2 separate regions of the Homo sapiens genome follow, and region 1 is linked to region 2. Evidence: promoter capture Hi-C in 16 types of primary human blood cells and fetal thymus (Javierre and others, 2016). All regions are on one chromosome and are shown on one strand. The core of a region is centred on a gene start or on the middle of the fragment in contact, and the rest is flanking DNA. Distances in the headings are between cores, read along the strand shown.

Region 1 (7,239 bases), core at 2,595-5,094, 540 kb after region 2:
TCTCAGCATGGATCTGTGCTGCCCCTGCCCCTCACAGTTCTCCAGAGGGCAGGGAGAGCCATTTCCTGCCACCTGTCCTTGATTGCCATATGGCCACCTGACCTTCCTGAGGTTCAGTGGGGAGGACAGTAAGGTTTGGCTGAGGTAACCCTGTGTGAGTGGTGTCGTGGCTTTTGGTGCTTAGCCCTCAGCCCCATCTTTCTATCTCCAAGGAAGCGGGAGGAGCGACCTCAGCATCCTGTCAGCTGTGAAGTCATCAAAGCCATTGCTGATACCCTCTCCATTCCTGTCATAGCCAAGTAAGCCTCCTGTCTTCATCATGTACTCTGTGTCCCACAGAGCTAAGGGCTGGGTGGTAGCCAGGCCCAGCCTTCCCTAGAGTGAAAAGTTTTAGGGGTGGCTTGAAAAGGGCAGGGCTTTCCACAAGACCCCAGACCTGTTCCTTCTGCTGCCACCTGAGACCCTCCCCTCTGCATGCCTGTCTCAGGACTGAGGCTGCCGACTGACTCCTGATGAAATGTACAGAGACAGAGCAGGGGGTCCTTGGAGCAGCAGGCTGCAGGGAGGGGAAAGTATGACCTAACTGGGCCTCCTTCCTTCCTCTTGTCATCACTAGGGTGTCTGTTCCTCTCGCCAGGGTTTTGACTTAGCCCTCAGTGAACATATAAGTGGCCCATTCAGCTTGGGGGTTTTCCTGTAGCCCCAGTAGCCCAGTTATGGACCCATGTCTCCAGATGTGGGCTGGCTGTAGCCACTGTTTTAGATTAGGGGCAAGGAAAGTAAATTTCCTGGATTACCTATTAAGTGCCAGGCACTCTACATGTATTATCTCAGTTAGTGCTCCTAACTTCATAATGGGATATGGATTCTAATATCCACTTTACTGAAGCTCTGATAGCTGAAGGGACTTGGCCAAATTCACATTGTTAATCAGTGGCAGATCTGAGAGCTGACTTTTTCTGAAAATGCTGATAGGTTCCGTGATGGGGACACCCCTAACCCTCTGGTTGCTTTTTAGCGGAGGATCTCATGACCACATCCAACAGTATTCGGACATAGAGGACTTTCGACAAGCCACGGCAGCCTCTTCCGTGATGGTGGCCCGAGCAGCCATGTGGAACCCATCTATCTTCCTCAAGGAGGGTCTGCGGCCCCTGGAGGAGGTCATGCAGAAATACATCAGATACGTACGTCTCTGTACTTTTTCAAAACAAGCATTTCTCACTGTCTACCACACTCCTGCAGAGAGCACTTTGTGTGAGCCCCCAGCTGCCAGCTGTGCTTGCTGTTCCTCTCCTTTTCTTTTTAGCTCATGTAGTGTAGCTGCACTAGCTCACTGCTTTATTCGGTCTCCCCAGCTGCAATGCTAAGAGAGGATGCTGGGGGGCATACCCCTACCATCTCCTAAAGCTTCCAGAGGTTTGCAGGTCATAGCAAGAACCTTCTAGATCCAGGATGCTGTTGGAACCCCGAACACATGATATATATCTTTCTTTTTCTCACACGCTGCACATACAGAGGCATATGCACGTGGACTGTGGGTTCTGCATCATCAAAGGCATATGTGCCTATAGGTTGGCTCAGGAGCAGCCACAGCCAAGAGGAGCAATTGAGAAATTTCTCACCTGATTTGACTCATCAGTCGAAATAATTTCTAAAACTTTTCTCTTGCTAATTCCAGAATGCTTTAAGCATAACCCTCTACTTAGGGAATAGCTTTTTTTTTTTTTTTTTGAGATGGGGTCTTGCTCTGTTGCCCAGGTGTGAGCATAGTGGCATAATCATGACTCACTGCAGTCTTGACCTCCTGGGCTCAAGTGATCCTCCTGCTTCAGCCTCCCAAGTAGTTGGGACTACAGGCATGTGCCACAACACTCAGCTAATTTTTTATTTTTTTAATAGAGATGAGGTCTCCCTATGTTGCCCAGGCTGGGAATGGCCTTTTCTAAACCAGTTTCTTCTCATTGAGAGGTTGATGGTAGTGCCAAGGGCATATCCCTATAAAAGAAAATGAAGAGTTCACTTGCCTTATCTCTTTGGCACAACCCTGGAACTCTGTGGGACTCTGATCAGCTGCACATGTCTGCAGGGAGAGACAGTGAGTGGTCCTCAAATTCTTCAGTGAATTGGGTCTGAACAGAGGGTGCAGTCTTTGCCCAGAGCAGAGTTCCACCCTCCTCTTCAGTCCTAGGGTTCATACCTGCCTAGGAGTGCCTGTGGCTGCCATGGTATGTGAGTGTTTCCATGGCTGTGCAAGCTAGGATGGTAAGATGCCCTGAGGTCTGCGTCCAGAGCTGGGCAGCCTTTGTCCTATTTCCTGTTCAATGCTGCAGCCCTCACTCCCTGGTTCTGGTGTCCTGCTGGGCAAGTTGGTGACCACCAGCTCTCCAATGGTCTGGGATAGCTCCATGGCAAGGGAGGGCTTGCCCCAGCCCAGGTCAGCTATCCAGCTTTTTGGCCAGCTGGCAAGTCTGGCCAAGAAGACGTGCTGAACAGTGCTGAGCTTGCTCACTGGGTGAAAGGTGATATTATCATTCCTGCTGAGCCATCTCTTGGCAGCTCCTCAAGAGGGTGTGCTATCACAGAGAAAGGGAGCGGCTTTCAAGCATAGGCAGGGCTGCTTCTGGTCCAGCCAGGTGCCTTCTTCCCAGACAAGCTGAGTCAAGGACTTGCCACCAGCCGGGGCGCCCCGACTTACTTCCCACTTTGTCCTGAGCGTGCCGTGGCACTTTCCCAGCCACTGAAGTCATAGGCCCACGTGGAGTTACTAGAGCAGCATAGGGGGTGGGGGATGGGAGGGTGTCCTGGAGGGCTGGGGAAGGCCACCTTCACCCAATACTGCTCTCCTGCCCTACCTCTAGCCAGCCGACTTCCACTGGGTGTCCCAGGCAGTCAGTCATCTTGCCTCCCTGAGCCTTCATTTCACGGTCTGTGGAGTGATGGTGACAGTTGCACCTCACACTTGTATAGATAAATGTAGTCATGAGTAACCCATGTGAACTAAATGATGCTGTGTTTTACCCACGTAGGGGGAAGTTAGAGGCTATTCAAGATGTGGGAAGGGAAGGTGCCCATTCTGGTTAGAAGGAATAGAAGAATCTCACCCCTTTCCTGGCACTGGACCTGCCATGCCAGAATTTGGTGTGTTTCCCCTCCCTTCCCTGGAAGATACTTGGCAGTAGGTCCTCTGTGGTGGCTGAAGCAGGAAGGGGCTCCCGCACTTCGAGACCTCAGTCAGGCTGTCCAGGAGAATGTGTTTCTGACCGTGGTCCTTGGCTGTGACCCTCAAGCTTTGTACCACTAGCTGGAAGAGTAGATGACCAAGGTCGAAGTGGCTTTTTAATTTATTTTTATTTTTATTTTTAATTTTAGATAGGGTCTCAGTCTGTTGCCCAGGCTGGAGTGCAGTGGCATGATCATAGCTCACTACAGCCACAACTCCTGGGTGCAAGCAATCCTCTTGCCTTAGCCTCCCTAGTAGCTATGGCTACAGGTGTGTGCCAACATGCCTGGCTAATTTTCTTTTTCTTTTTTTTTTTTTTTTTGAGACAGAGTTTTGCTGTTGTCGCCCAGGCTGGAGTGCAGTGGCACGATCTTGGCTCACCGCAACCTTCGCCTCCAGGGTTCAAGCGATTCTCTTGCCTCAGCCTCCCGAGTAGCTGGGATTACAGGCACCCGCCACCACGCCCAGCTAATTTTGTATTTTTAGTAGAGACGGGGCTTCACCATGTTGGTCAGGCTGGTCTTGAACTCCTGACCTCAGGTGATCCGCCCGCCTTGGCCTCCCAAGGTGCTGTGATTACAGGCGTGAGCCACCGTGCCCAGCCGATAATTTTCTTTTTTTTAATTTTTGTAGAGTTGAGTCTTACGTTGCCCAGGCTGCTCTTGAACTCCTAGCCTCAAGCAGTCCTCCTGCATTGGCCTCTCAGAGTGCTGGGATTACAGATGTGAGCCACTGCTCCTGGCCAGTGGTGGTTCTTCTTATGGGGGTCACATTGCCTTGGCTACACATACATCTCTGGTGCCTTCTTGGAGCTCCTTTCCCTGCCATCAGAGCATAGCCCAGGCCTTAGAGCCTGCCTGGGCATCAGGCAAGTCATTTCTTTTCTCAGGCGGTGCAGTATGACAACCACTACACCAACACCAAGTACTGCTTGTGCCAGATGCTACGAGAACAGCTGGAGTCGCCCCAGGGAAGGTTGCTCCATGCTGCCCAGTCTTCCCGGGAAATTTGGTAAGAGGCACAATAAGATGTCCATCTGTCCTTGTACGCATTGCCCAAGTTTGACTTTGAGCCCTAAGCTGACTCCACCAGGGGACCAGGGACACAGCTTCTGGATGTAGATGTAGAGGAGTGGAGTGATGGTACAGCTTTGCCTCCCAGGAGGGGATTCTTTGAAAGCTTTGAAACGTCCCATCCCTGGACGGATCAGCAGAGCTCTGGGAACTAGGGTACTAGAAGGATAGAGGAATGCAAAGGAAGGGGATTTTCCATAAATGGGATAGTCACAGGCCAGGCCCCCAGGAACCAGTGGTCAGGAGAATTGGGCTGTAGCATGGAGCCTCTACCTTGAGCCTGCACTCACATCCATCACCCTGCAGTTTGAGAGACCACCTGTTGATTCTCTAGATCAGGTGCAGCTCTAGCTCAGATGGTTGACAGTTGAGGCCCTTCACAAGCTGGCCTAGCCACTGCCCCCACAGCTCCCTGTCTACCTGTCTGCTTCCAGAACTCCACACCTGTGCTTGTAATGGGTCGTCTGCCTGGAAGGCTCTCTCCCTCTCACGTGAGCTATCTGTAGCCTCCCTCTTACATAGATGCCTTTCTGAACCACTTTTGCCATTGGGGATCTATCTTCGTTTGAGTCTTCCAGCCTTCAAGATGTTTCCTAGAAGGGAAAAACCTTTGCCAGAGCCCTCTTCCCACCCTTGGCTTATGGCATTGGTTCAGTCCCTACCCCACATAACTCTGTAGCTCTGGGTGGTGCCTCAGTGTCAGCTGAGACCCATGTATAACTGCCTGTGGCTGGGCGGGAAGTGGGGAACCACTTAGTGGTCAGGCCTCTGTCTCTTCCTCCCATGGGCCCATGTGCTTGATCAGCATTGGTTAACTCAGTCACGGCTGGCTGGGGATACCATCTGTGTGCTTCCCCTCAGGAGAGAGGCTGCAGGTGGTGGGGGTGACCTTTACAACCTTTGCCACCCAGCCCAGCCTCCCTCCAGTGTCCACGCTTGGGTTCACATTCACTTTCCATCTTCCAGTCCACAGTAATCCCAGGGCTGGGCAGGGGGCACATTCTGATGGCCAGGCCCCGGTGGTGTTTTGGTGTATGTGGTAGAGGAGTTTCTCAGTGGTGGGGCCCTGGGGTCCTGCAGTACCCTGGATGCTGGCTCCGCTAAAGTGTTTGCTCTGATCTGCTTCTTCCTCCCTAGTGAGGCCTTTGGCCTTGGTGCCTTCTATGAGGAGACCACACAGGAGCTGGATGCCCAGCAGGCCAGGCTCTCAGCCAAGACTTCAGAGCAGACAGGGGAGCCAGCTGAAGATACCTCTGGTGTCATTAAGATGGCTGTCAAGTTTGACCGGTAGGTCTCCAGCTTGGCCTCAGCTTGGGCTAGGGCCAGCACCCTTGGGGTCCCACTGGGCCAGCACACTGGCTGCTGTATGTGCTTAATGTCAAACGTAGGGACCACAGGTCTTGTTGGTTTGGAAACTCGTTCTAAATTTTCAGCATCCCATAGAAGGTGCTTTCAGGGGAGATAGTCCCTGAAAGGCTGTCCCAAGGATAACTGAACTCTACTTTTTCCCTGATTTACCGCCTCCCACAACTCAGGGCAGGGGGGACTTGTCTCCTGTTCCTGAAAGTCTGTGCTTTTCCAAGGCCCTGAGGAACTGGCTCCTGGCATGAAGCTCCTCAAACAACAGCAGGACCCTAGCCCTCATTTGGCTCTGCAGCCCCTACCCACACCCAGTGCCCCTCACCAGCTCTGTGGTGCTCTCTCAAGCTGCTTACGCCTCAGATTGTGACTCAGCTTTGAATGGTGCCCTCCTCTGGGATCTGAGCCTTTCTCCAGTCCCCAGGACCAGACAGGAGCCAGTCTTGTCTGGCAGAGGTGTGGAGAGGGGGAGCAGGGTGGTGGGGAATAGCTGTTGGGCAGTCAGATGCCAGGGAGAGTTCCAGTTGGGAAGTTGGAATATGACCCCTCCCACCCTGTCACTGTGTCACCCTGTCACAGGCTGACTCTGAAACCAGATTCCAAGTGTCCATGGCTGCAGCAGATGATCATGACACTTGGCAGGCGGAATCAGGATGGGCGCTGAGCTAGATCCCCGAGACCATTGTCTGGCTACCTCCATTGCCCACCTCCACCCACTCCCTACTAATCTTGTCTTGAGTGGCAAGCTTCCTTCTTGGATGTTGAACATTGTTTTTCCAGTCTGGACCTCAGAGTACTGGGAGTTCATTCCCCCTTCCCTTACAATTTCTTGAGCATGCCAAAATTCATCTTCCCTTTAGGGAGAACCCAGGTCCAAGCTGCTGGTAGGACAAGAATGGGAGCCTAGGGGAGCAAGTACAGAAGCCTTAAGGCAGCAGCTCGGTGTCTCAGTTCCTCTCATTTCTGCAGCTCCTTTCAGGAGCTGAGTAGTGCCCTGGCTGAGGGAGGGAGCGGTGATGGTGGGTGACCCCAACTGCTTCCCTTCCTTTCCCCAGGAGAGCATACCCAGCCCAGATCACCCCTAAGATGTGCCTACTAGAGTGGTGCCGGAGGGAGAAGTTGGCACAGCCTGTGTATGAAACGGTGAGTTCCTGGCTGTGGCCTGCCCTGCAGCCAGTCACAGCACTCCCATGGCTTACACCCTCAACTCTAGATTGCCAGGCTGGAGCCTGGCCTTGACCTCTGTAGGCATGGAGAAGCTGCTGGTGGCCAGGTCAGTTGCTGATAGCCCTCCCCTCTTACAGTGGCCTGTTGTCCAGTTCAGCCAGACATCTCTCTTTTTTTTTTTTTTGAAACAGAGTCTAATTTTTATTTTTTATTTTTTAGAAATGTGGTCTCAGCCGGGCACGGTGGCTCATGCCTGTAATCCCACAACTTTGGGAGGCCGAGGCAGGTGGAACACGAGGTCAGGAGTTCAAGACCAGCCTGGCTAAGATGGTGAAACCCCGTTTTCCTAAAAATACAAAAATTAGCTGGACATGGTGGTGGGCGCCTGTAATCCCAGCTACTTGGGAGGCTGAGGCA
Region 2 (7,741 bases), core at 1,810-4,309:
ACAGGGCTCAGGAAATGATGCCTGATTCAAACAGGGCCGAGCTGACCACGACCCAGGGAGCCAAGTTGGAGCTCAGAGTCTGCCCTTCCCAACGATGTGACAGTTTCTATGGGAAGTTCTTGCCTTCCCTGAGCTTCAGGTGTCTCCTCTTTGAAGTGGGTTTCAAGCTGTGTCCTCCCCTGTGCTTAGCTCACCAATTGTTAGGGAGAGGCTTTGAAAGCCACCAGGACCCTGTGACCCTCGGAGGGATGCTGCCCTTCCCTCGAGGCCCCTTGGATGTGGGGGAAGAGCCAGGTGAACTCCCAGGTGTTCCATTTAATCACTGCAGCGCCATCTGTGCCTGGTCTGGTGGTCACAGGCCTGGCCATGGACAAGGACAATAGGCAGTAATGGGTGCTCAGAGGACACAGGTTCCCTGGAGGAAGGGACATCTGAGCTGTTTTCCAAGTGGATGAGGGGGAGAAGCATCCTAGGCAGAAGGGAGGCTGGGAAAAAAGGCAGAGGCCAGAGGGTGGAGGCTGCATCCAGGGAGCTGCAGGCTGGGAGTGTAGTGGAAGCCAGATCACAGGGGCCGCAGAATAAGTGCAAGATAAGGAGGTGAGGTCATCTGAGGCCAGATCTCCTGGGCCTTGGAGGCCCTACCACATAGTATGGACTATCTTCTGGAGTGGGTGGGCATGGTAGGGGGAGGGAATTAATTCAAAAGATGTTAAGGAGAAAGAAGCAAGAGGACTGGGCAGCTAAAGGAAGGTGAGGGCAGGAGAGGGGGATGCCAAGGGCTCATGCATTTACACGTTCAGTTACTTGCTCATTCAACAAATATTTCTTGAACTCCCACTATGAGCCAGGCACCTTGATGATAAGGACTTCTGTGGTTCCTACCCGCACACTACTTAGAGACAACACAGTCAGGCAGGGTCAGGCCCATGAGCACACATGGTGTGCACACTGCTGCCTGGCCATGGTGAGCAGTATGAAAGGAGTCAATAGGAGGCTGGAACAGAGGGTGTCTGCAGAGAAAGTACTCAGAAGATGCCTGGCTGAGAGGTGACTTTAGGGGTGGGCAGAGGCCAATTGGTGCCAGCTTTGAGAACTCCAGAAAACCCCAGTCTCTAGCTCAGGTGGATGCCTGGGTAGACAGTGGTGCTTTGTAGGGATGGGGACAATGCTGAGGACTGGTGAGTCAACCAGAAAGCAGCCAGGGGCTCTGAAACAGGAGAGGGCTCTGGGCACAGAGGGAAGTTTGGGATGGTCAGCAGTGAATGGATGGGAGCCCTGAGACTGGATGATATTTTAGGGTAGGGTGAATAAAGAGAAGAACTCAGCCCCTGGAAGTCATGCCCAGGTTTAAGGACTTCAGAGAAAAGGGCACTGACCGGCCCAGTGGCTCATGCCTGTAATCCCAGCACTTTGAGAGGCCAAGGTGGGTGGATCGCTTGAGGCCAGGAGGTGGAGGCCAGCCTGGCCAACATGGTGAAACCCCATCTCTACCAAAAATATAAAAATTAGCCGGGACATCTCTACCAAAAATATAGAAATTAGAAGGCGGAGGTTGCAGTGAGCCGAGATCACGCCACTATACTCCAGCCTGGGCAACAGAGGGAGACTCCGTCCCCCAAAAAAAAACAAAAAAGAAAGAAAGAAAAGGGCACTACAAAGGAAGCCCAAGAGGAGGGGCTGGAGAGTGGAGAACTGTGAGGCAGAGGTGGCTCAAGCCTGTAATCCCAGTACTTTGGGAGGCCAAGGTGGGAGGATCGCTTGAGCCCAGTTAGAGACCAGTCTGAGCAACATGAAGAAAGCCCATCTCTAAAAAACCGACCAAACAGGCTGGGCGCGGTGGCTCATGCCTGTAATCCCAGCACTTTGGGAGGCCAAGGCGGGCAGATCACGAGGTCAGGAGATCGAGACCATCCTGGCTAACATGGTGAAACCCCATCTCTACCAAAAATACAAAAAATTAGCCGGGCGTGGTGTGGGCGCCTGTAGTCCCAGCTACTCGGGAGGCTGAGGCAGGAGAATGGCATGAACCTGGGAGGTGGAGCTTGCACTGCATTCCAGCCTGGGCGACAGTGACACTCTGTCTCAAAAAAAAAAAAAAAAAACCCGACCAAACAAAACCAAGCAAACAAGCAAAACACACAAAAAAACAGCCCTCAGGACTGGTGGGGGCGGGGTACAGATATTCAGGGACCTCTTACTGTCCCTGAAACCATTCCTGGGTAGGTCTGACATACATGAGGGCTGCGGGAGTGCAAGGCCTGGAGAAGCCTCAGGGGTGTCCAGGTTGGAAGGGCCAGGGGTGTCTGATTGATGGGAGGAGCGGGGGAGTGGAACTGGCCCTTTGACCCCAACATGGGGTCGACTCTCAGCCCCACCTTTACCGACTGTGTGGAGGGCCAGCATTCTAGCCCCGGCTTTGGAAAGGACTGGGTTGCCCAACACATGGCCCTGTACCCGGACCCTGCCAGCGTCCCCACCCCAAGACTGCCCGAAAACCAGTACCCAATGAGTGGGGAATGCATGACCCGGCTATGAGCCTGGACTTACCAGCCAGACAGTGGCAGAAAGGGCGGCCTGCCTCTACAGCGACGCTGAGGCTGGCTGAAATGGCAGGGCTGAAGGGCAGCGTCTGGACCCAGAAGGTGCCAGGCGGCTTCTGGACTCCCCAAGGCCTTCACAACAGCCCTGGATCCTTTCCACCAACCAGCCTAAGCCAGCAGTAGCAGCTCCAGGACCTGTTTCAGGTGGTCACGGACAGGGGGCCCGCAAGGTCTCCAGAGCCCGAGGGATCTGGGGAGGGGACAAGCAGGCGGGGCTCCCTGGCGCTCACCGTTTTAGGGTCTGCGTGAGAAAGCCTCCCTCACATCCCCCAGGGTCTGCCCTCCCTGCAAGCTGGTGGGCTGCGTGGGCCACCGGCCTGCCCCGTTATCCGAGAGGGCGGAGCGAGCCGTGGGCGCCTCTAGGGGTGCGGGAGCCGCGGGAGCGCAGGGGGTGGGGCCCGGCGGGCCAGGGGAGGGGCGGCGGGGCGGCGGGCGGAGGGAGGGGCCGGCGCCTGCGGCGGCGACAGCGGCAGCTGCGGCGCGACCAGGCCGGGCACCTCCGAGCGCAAGGACAGCGCGAGGTCCGCGCAGCCCAGCGCAGCCATGTGAGTGTCCCGCGCCGTTTCCGGGGCTGCAGGCCGGGCGGGGAGCAGGCGCGGAGGTTCTGGTGCCCCCCCGCCGGCGCCGCCCGGTGGGTCCGGGATCTGCGGCTCTGTCCCGCCTCACCCCATCTCCCGGACCCCGGCCGCGCCTTGTCTTTCCTCCCCTCCCCCCGGGCGTGGAGAACGCAGCTTCTCCCACAAAAGCCGCCGCCTCCGGGCCTGCAGAGCCTGGCGCTGCTGCCTTCCTCCCACGGCAAGGCCCTGGCGGCCGGTGCCCCGGGGCGCTGGGATGGGCCAGGCCAGAGAGCGGGCTCAAGGCGCCAGCCTGGGCCCTGGCACGCGCGCTCCCTGGGAGCCCTTGCTGCCTTCGCCGCAGGGGAGGCTGGGCTGGAAATGGGGAGGGGGCGACGAAGGGTGCGGGCCGGCCTAGGAGCTGAGCTAATCCTCCTAGCTCTAGGGGCCGGCCTAAGCGGCTTTGTGGCCGGCCCCGAGGTGACCGAGCCTGGGCTGGAGCCGGGCTCTCCGCCCAAACCTGGCGTAGCCGAAGCCGGAGAGGATCGTCCTTGTCGGGGAACGGAGCTTTTCCCTGGAAATGGAGGTTGGCGCAAGGTTCCTGCAACAGCCGGGCCTGGGCTCTCTGCAGAACTGGTTTGGGCAAGGGGCTGCTCACCAGGGCTAGAGGTCGGATTCAGTCCAGATTCAGCACCCTTTGTCCTCCTCTCCAGGGTGAGCCCTGAGTCCGGCCTCCCCTACAGACCCTCCCCAGCCAGTTCTAACGTGTGTCCAGGCTGGCCGCCCCAGCACCTACTGTGCGCAGCCTCGTGTAACAATACTTGTGCCCTGGCTGCAGTCTGCGGGGCCGCGCCCTGGGCCTGCCGCATTCGGCCAACGCACAGCATCTGAGGAGGGTTATGACCATCTGGCAGATGCAGAAACAGGCCCAGAGAGGTTAGTAGTATTCTCAAGGTCACACAGCTGGTTTGGGAGAAGCGAGGATTAGATCTGAGTCCTTGCCCCTGCGACACCCACCTCCGTGGTATTGGAGGGAGGAGAGGAATGATAATTGGGGGCTGAGGTACAAAATACTCCAGCGGGACAAGGAGGACTGGCATAGCTCCTTCTTCCACCGCCCTCTCCGGCTTGGGTCCTGTGACTGCGGCGGGAGAGAGGAGCAAGGTGAGCCGCCCCAGGGGTCTGGGTTTGGGTGCGGGTGAGGGGAGGACTCAGGACTCTGGGCTGGGTCCCGCTTGAGAGAAGCGGGCGGGGAGGGCGCGGGTGAGTCACGGCGGCCCCTCTGCGTCGCCGCTCGGACTCAGCCCTGGCCAGGCCCGGCCCGGGGGAGGCCGCCTGGCTCCCAGCGCGCGGCCAGGGAATGTAACCAGCTGACCAGGGAGGGGGCCGGCAGGAAGTGAGGCCACCCGACAGCCTCCGCCCGGTTCCGGGGTGGGGGGTCCGGGGCTGTGCCGCTCCCCCTCCCTCCTATACGCTTGGGCAGCTGCGAGATGACGTCAGCCGCCGGGTTTGGGGGCAGTTGCCATGGAGACAAGGACAGGCTCAGAAGGGACCCCCTTCTCCCTTGCAGCCGCCCCTTGCCCAGGTTATTTTTAGCCTCTGTTTACCTCGGTCGGGGCGGCCCCGGGGTGGGGCGGGGCTAGACCCGGGGACTCCCAGAGAGGCAGCTGGCCTGGCACAGTGCTGAGATGGGCAGCCCAGGTGGTGGGATATTCCGCCGCACCCGGGTGTGCCAGTCTTGGTGTGTAGGAAGTATAGCGGGGCTGCAAGATCTGGGGCCATGCGGACAGGTCAGGGCTCCTCCACTCACGGCCATCCTGACCTGGCTGTGCTGCAAGCCCCATAACCTTTGGAACCTTGGATCTGGGTTATTTCCCATCCTGGGAACAGACTATAGGGCTGACATGAGCCCAGAGAGTCCCCTGGTTCTTATCAGCCAGTCCCCCACCAGTTGAGGTGGCCCTTCTGCCTTAGCTCAAGGGGTTCAGCTCTTTCCCTACCTGCTCTCACCCAGCAAGGGCAATCTTGCCCGCCCATCTCCCGAAGCGGTCACTCAGATGGACATTATGATGGTCATTTGTACCAACAGTTAGACATCCTAGTTCCTATGGGACTCGGGGGATGGTGGCAGCAGAGGGCCAACCAGAGAGAGAAAAGTGATGGAACAGTCAGCGGTTTCCAAGTCCAGAATCCCAGGGGATCCCCACCCTGCACCATCCCAGGGAGCAGAGCCCCACTTGCTGATGGTATACGATACCATCAGCCAGTGGGAAGGGAGAGGGAGGATTGCATGTCGGGTAGGGGAGTTGGGGTGGACATAGACTTAAAATCCTCCCCACCAACAAACAGCTCAGGACCTGCTGTTCCTGTGTCTAGGCAGCCCAGCTTCCCCCACTGTTCCCCCCCTTCATCTCCCAGGTGCTACAGGACCCCCAGAGCGCTGTGGTGAGCCAAGCAGATATGCCCCAGGTCTCACAAGGTTCAGTCTGGTGGGAAGACAGGCCCTAAAGGAGAACTGACAACTGGGTTATGTGGTCTCGGGGTTCAGAGGGAGGAAGTCAAAAAGGGGGAACCAACCCAGGGCCTGCTTCCTGGAGGAAGAAGTCATAGGGTAGACTTGAGGAAGGAGAGGGACTTGGGGCTGAGTAGTGGGAAGAAGGAATAGGAGCGATGGGGGCTGCCGGTCAGATTCTGAAGAACCTTGCAGGTATTGAGAGAGGGTCTCAGTTGCTGGAACAGAGAAAGCAGGGGACTGGGAGGAGAGGAGTGGTTGAAAGAATGTGAGGGACAGGACAAATCCTGAAGGGCCTACGTGGGTCATGTTAGAGAGTCTGGGCTTTCTCCCTGGGACAAGAGTGGCTGTGGCTATTTCACATCAGTCTGAATAGAGTGATATTAAAGATTTAGAGTCCTGGGGTCAGACAGCCTGGGTTTGAATCATGGTCTTGACACTTACCACCTGTGTGACTGTTTTGTTTTGTTTTTTGAGACAGAGTCTCGCTCTGTCGCCCAGGCTGGAGTGTAGTGGTGAGATCTTGGCTCACTGCAAGCTCCACCTCCCGGGCTCATGCCATTCTCCCACCTCAGCCTACTGAGTAGCTGGGACTACAGGCGCCAGCCACCACGCCCAGCTAATTTTTTTTTTTTTTGTATATTTAGTAGATATGGGGTTTCACCGTGTTAGCCAGGATGGTCTTGATCTCCTGACCTCATGATCCGCCCTCCTCAGCCTCCCAAAGTGCTGGGATTACAGGCGTGAGCCACCGCACCCGGCCGTGTGACTGTTAAAAATAATAGCAGTTAGTATTTGTTGTGTGTTCACAGTTAGATGTTAGCTAGGCATGGTGGTGCATGCCTGTGGTTCCAGCTACTTAAGAGGCTAAGGCAGTAAGATTGCTTGAGCCCAGGAGTTCAAGGCTGCAGTGAGCTATGAACGCACCACTGCACTGAAACTGATCGCTTGAGCCCAGGAGTTCAAGGCTGCAGTGAGCTATGAACACACCACTGCACTGAGACCTGGGTGACAGCGTGAGACCTCGTCTTAAAAAAAAAAAAATTAGGTATAGTGAGTCCACCTCAACGTCCCTACCCCACATACAATTCTCCCTTCCCCAAACACTTCCTATAGAGGGACATCCTCATGAGAGGAGATCTCATTTCATCCTCCCAGCAGCCTTGGGAAATAGCTGTTGTTATTATTATTATTGTCCTCTTTTTACAGATGGGTGTCTGAAGCCCAAAAGGCTGAATAAGTGTCTTGCCCAAGGTCACACAGCCTCAGGTTTCTCAGGTGCGAAGTGGAGCTAATAGGACTTACCCCATAAGGCTGTTGCCAGGATTAAATGAGATGATGTTTGCTAAGCTCAATGCCTGGCATATAGAATGCTCTCAATAAAGGACAGTTTTTGGCACTGTCAAGTGGCTACAATTTTAAGGTCAGTGTTGTTACTGAATAATGAATGGATGATTGCAGGTTAGAGTGGAGACAGGAGGTCCCTCAGGAAGGTTCTAGCTCATCAGAAGCCCAGCTGTAGGGCTCGAGGGGAGAGTTGGTGATGGCTTGGACCTGAATTCTGGCTATAGGGGTAGAGGTGAGGGGGCAGATTGCAGAGAGATTTAAGAGCCAGACCTGGCAGGAGGGGGTGACCTGGCAGGAGGGGGTGACTGGTCATAGGGGCTAACTGAGACATCCAGGACGACTTCTAGTTTCTGTCTTGAACAACGGGGTACATAGATGGTGGAGTGTCATGGAGAAGTTGAGACTAGGGAGAGTCAGGTGGAAAGTGGTGAATTTGGTTTGGGAACCTCAAACCCAGCATGCACTATGACAGCGCACGCTGCATCTGGGGAGGCAGCAAGCAGGCAGTTGGATACAGAGGCCTGGTGCTCAGAAGAGTGGCTTGGGTGGAGGAGAGATAAGGAAGCTGGCAACATTTAGATGGCATTGAGCTGCGGGATCTGTGCACAGCCCAAGGGCGGGGAGGATAAGGCCCATTCGGGGATGGGAGGAAAGAAGGGGCCTCTGTGGGAAAGTAAGATATGCAGCCAGAGAGGTAGATAGAAAACCAGCGTATTGTCTCTTGAAAT

Evidence for each region. Contacts are between HindIII fragments. The CHiCAGO score rates a contact against its expected background, and 5 or more counts as called.
Region 1: a contact is called between a fragment that was not itself captured here and the fragment with the promoter of RIPOR1 in region 2, in 2 of 17 cell types (naive B cells and erythroblasts). The highest score is 5.3, in naive B cells.

The regions. Positions count from the first base shown.
Region 1 is chr16:68,069,922-68,077,160 of GRCh38, forward strand. It overlaps DUS2 (dihydrouridine synthase 2), which reads left to right. Exons shown (of 17, transcript NM_017803.5): 11 at 213-299; 12 at 1,019-1,187; 13 at 4,113-4,234; 14 at 5,434-5,583; 15 at 6,711-6,798. Among named protein-coding and RNA genes, the nearest start is that of NFATC3, 12 kb to the right of the region's middle. RefSeq lists an enhancer at 5,401-5,510. The HindIII fragment of the contact is 1,112 bases long and covers 3,289-4,400 here.
Region 2 is chr16:67,525,770-67,533,510 of GRCh38, forward strand. RIPOR1 (RHO family interacting cell polarization regulator 1) reads left to right here and starts at 3,060. Exons shown (of 22, transcript NM_024519.4): 1 at 3,060-3,145. LOC100505942 (a long non-coding RNA gene) reads right to left here and starts at 2,976. Exons shown (of 2, transcript NR_104656.1): 1 at 2,548-2,976. RefSeq lists silencers at 3,017-3,126, 3,157-3,386, 4,387-4,666. The HindIII fragment of the contact is 8,124 bases long and covers 1-7,741 here.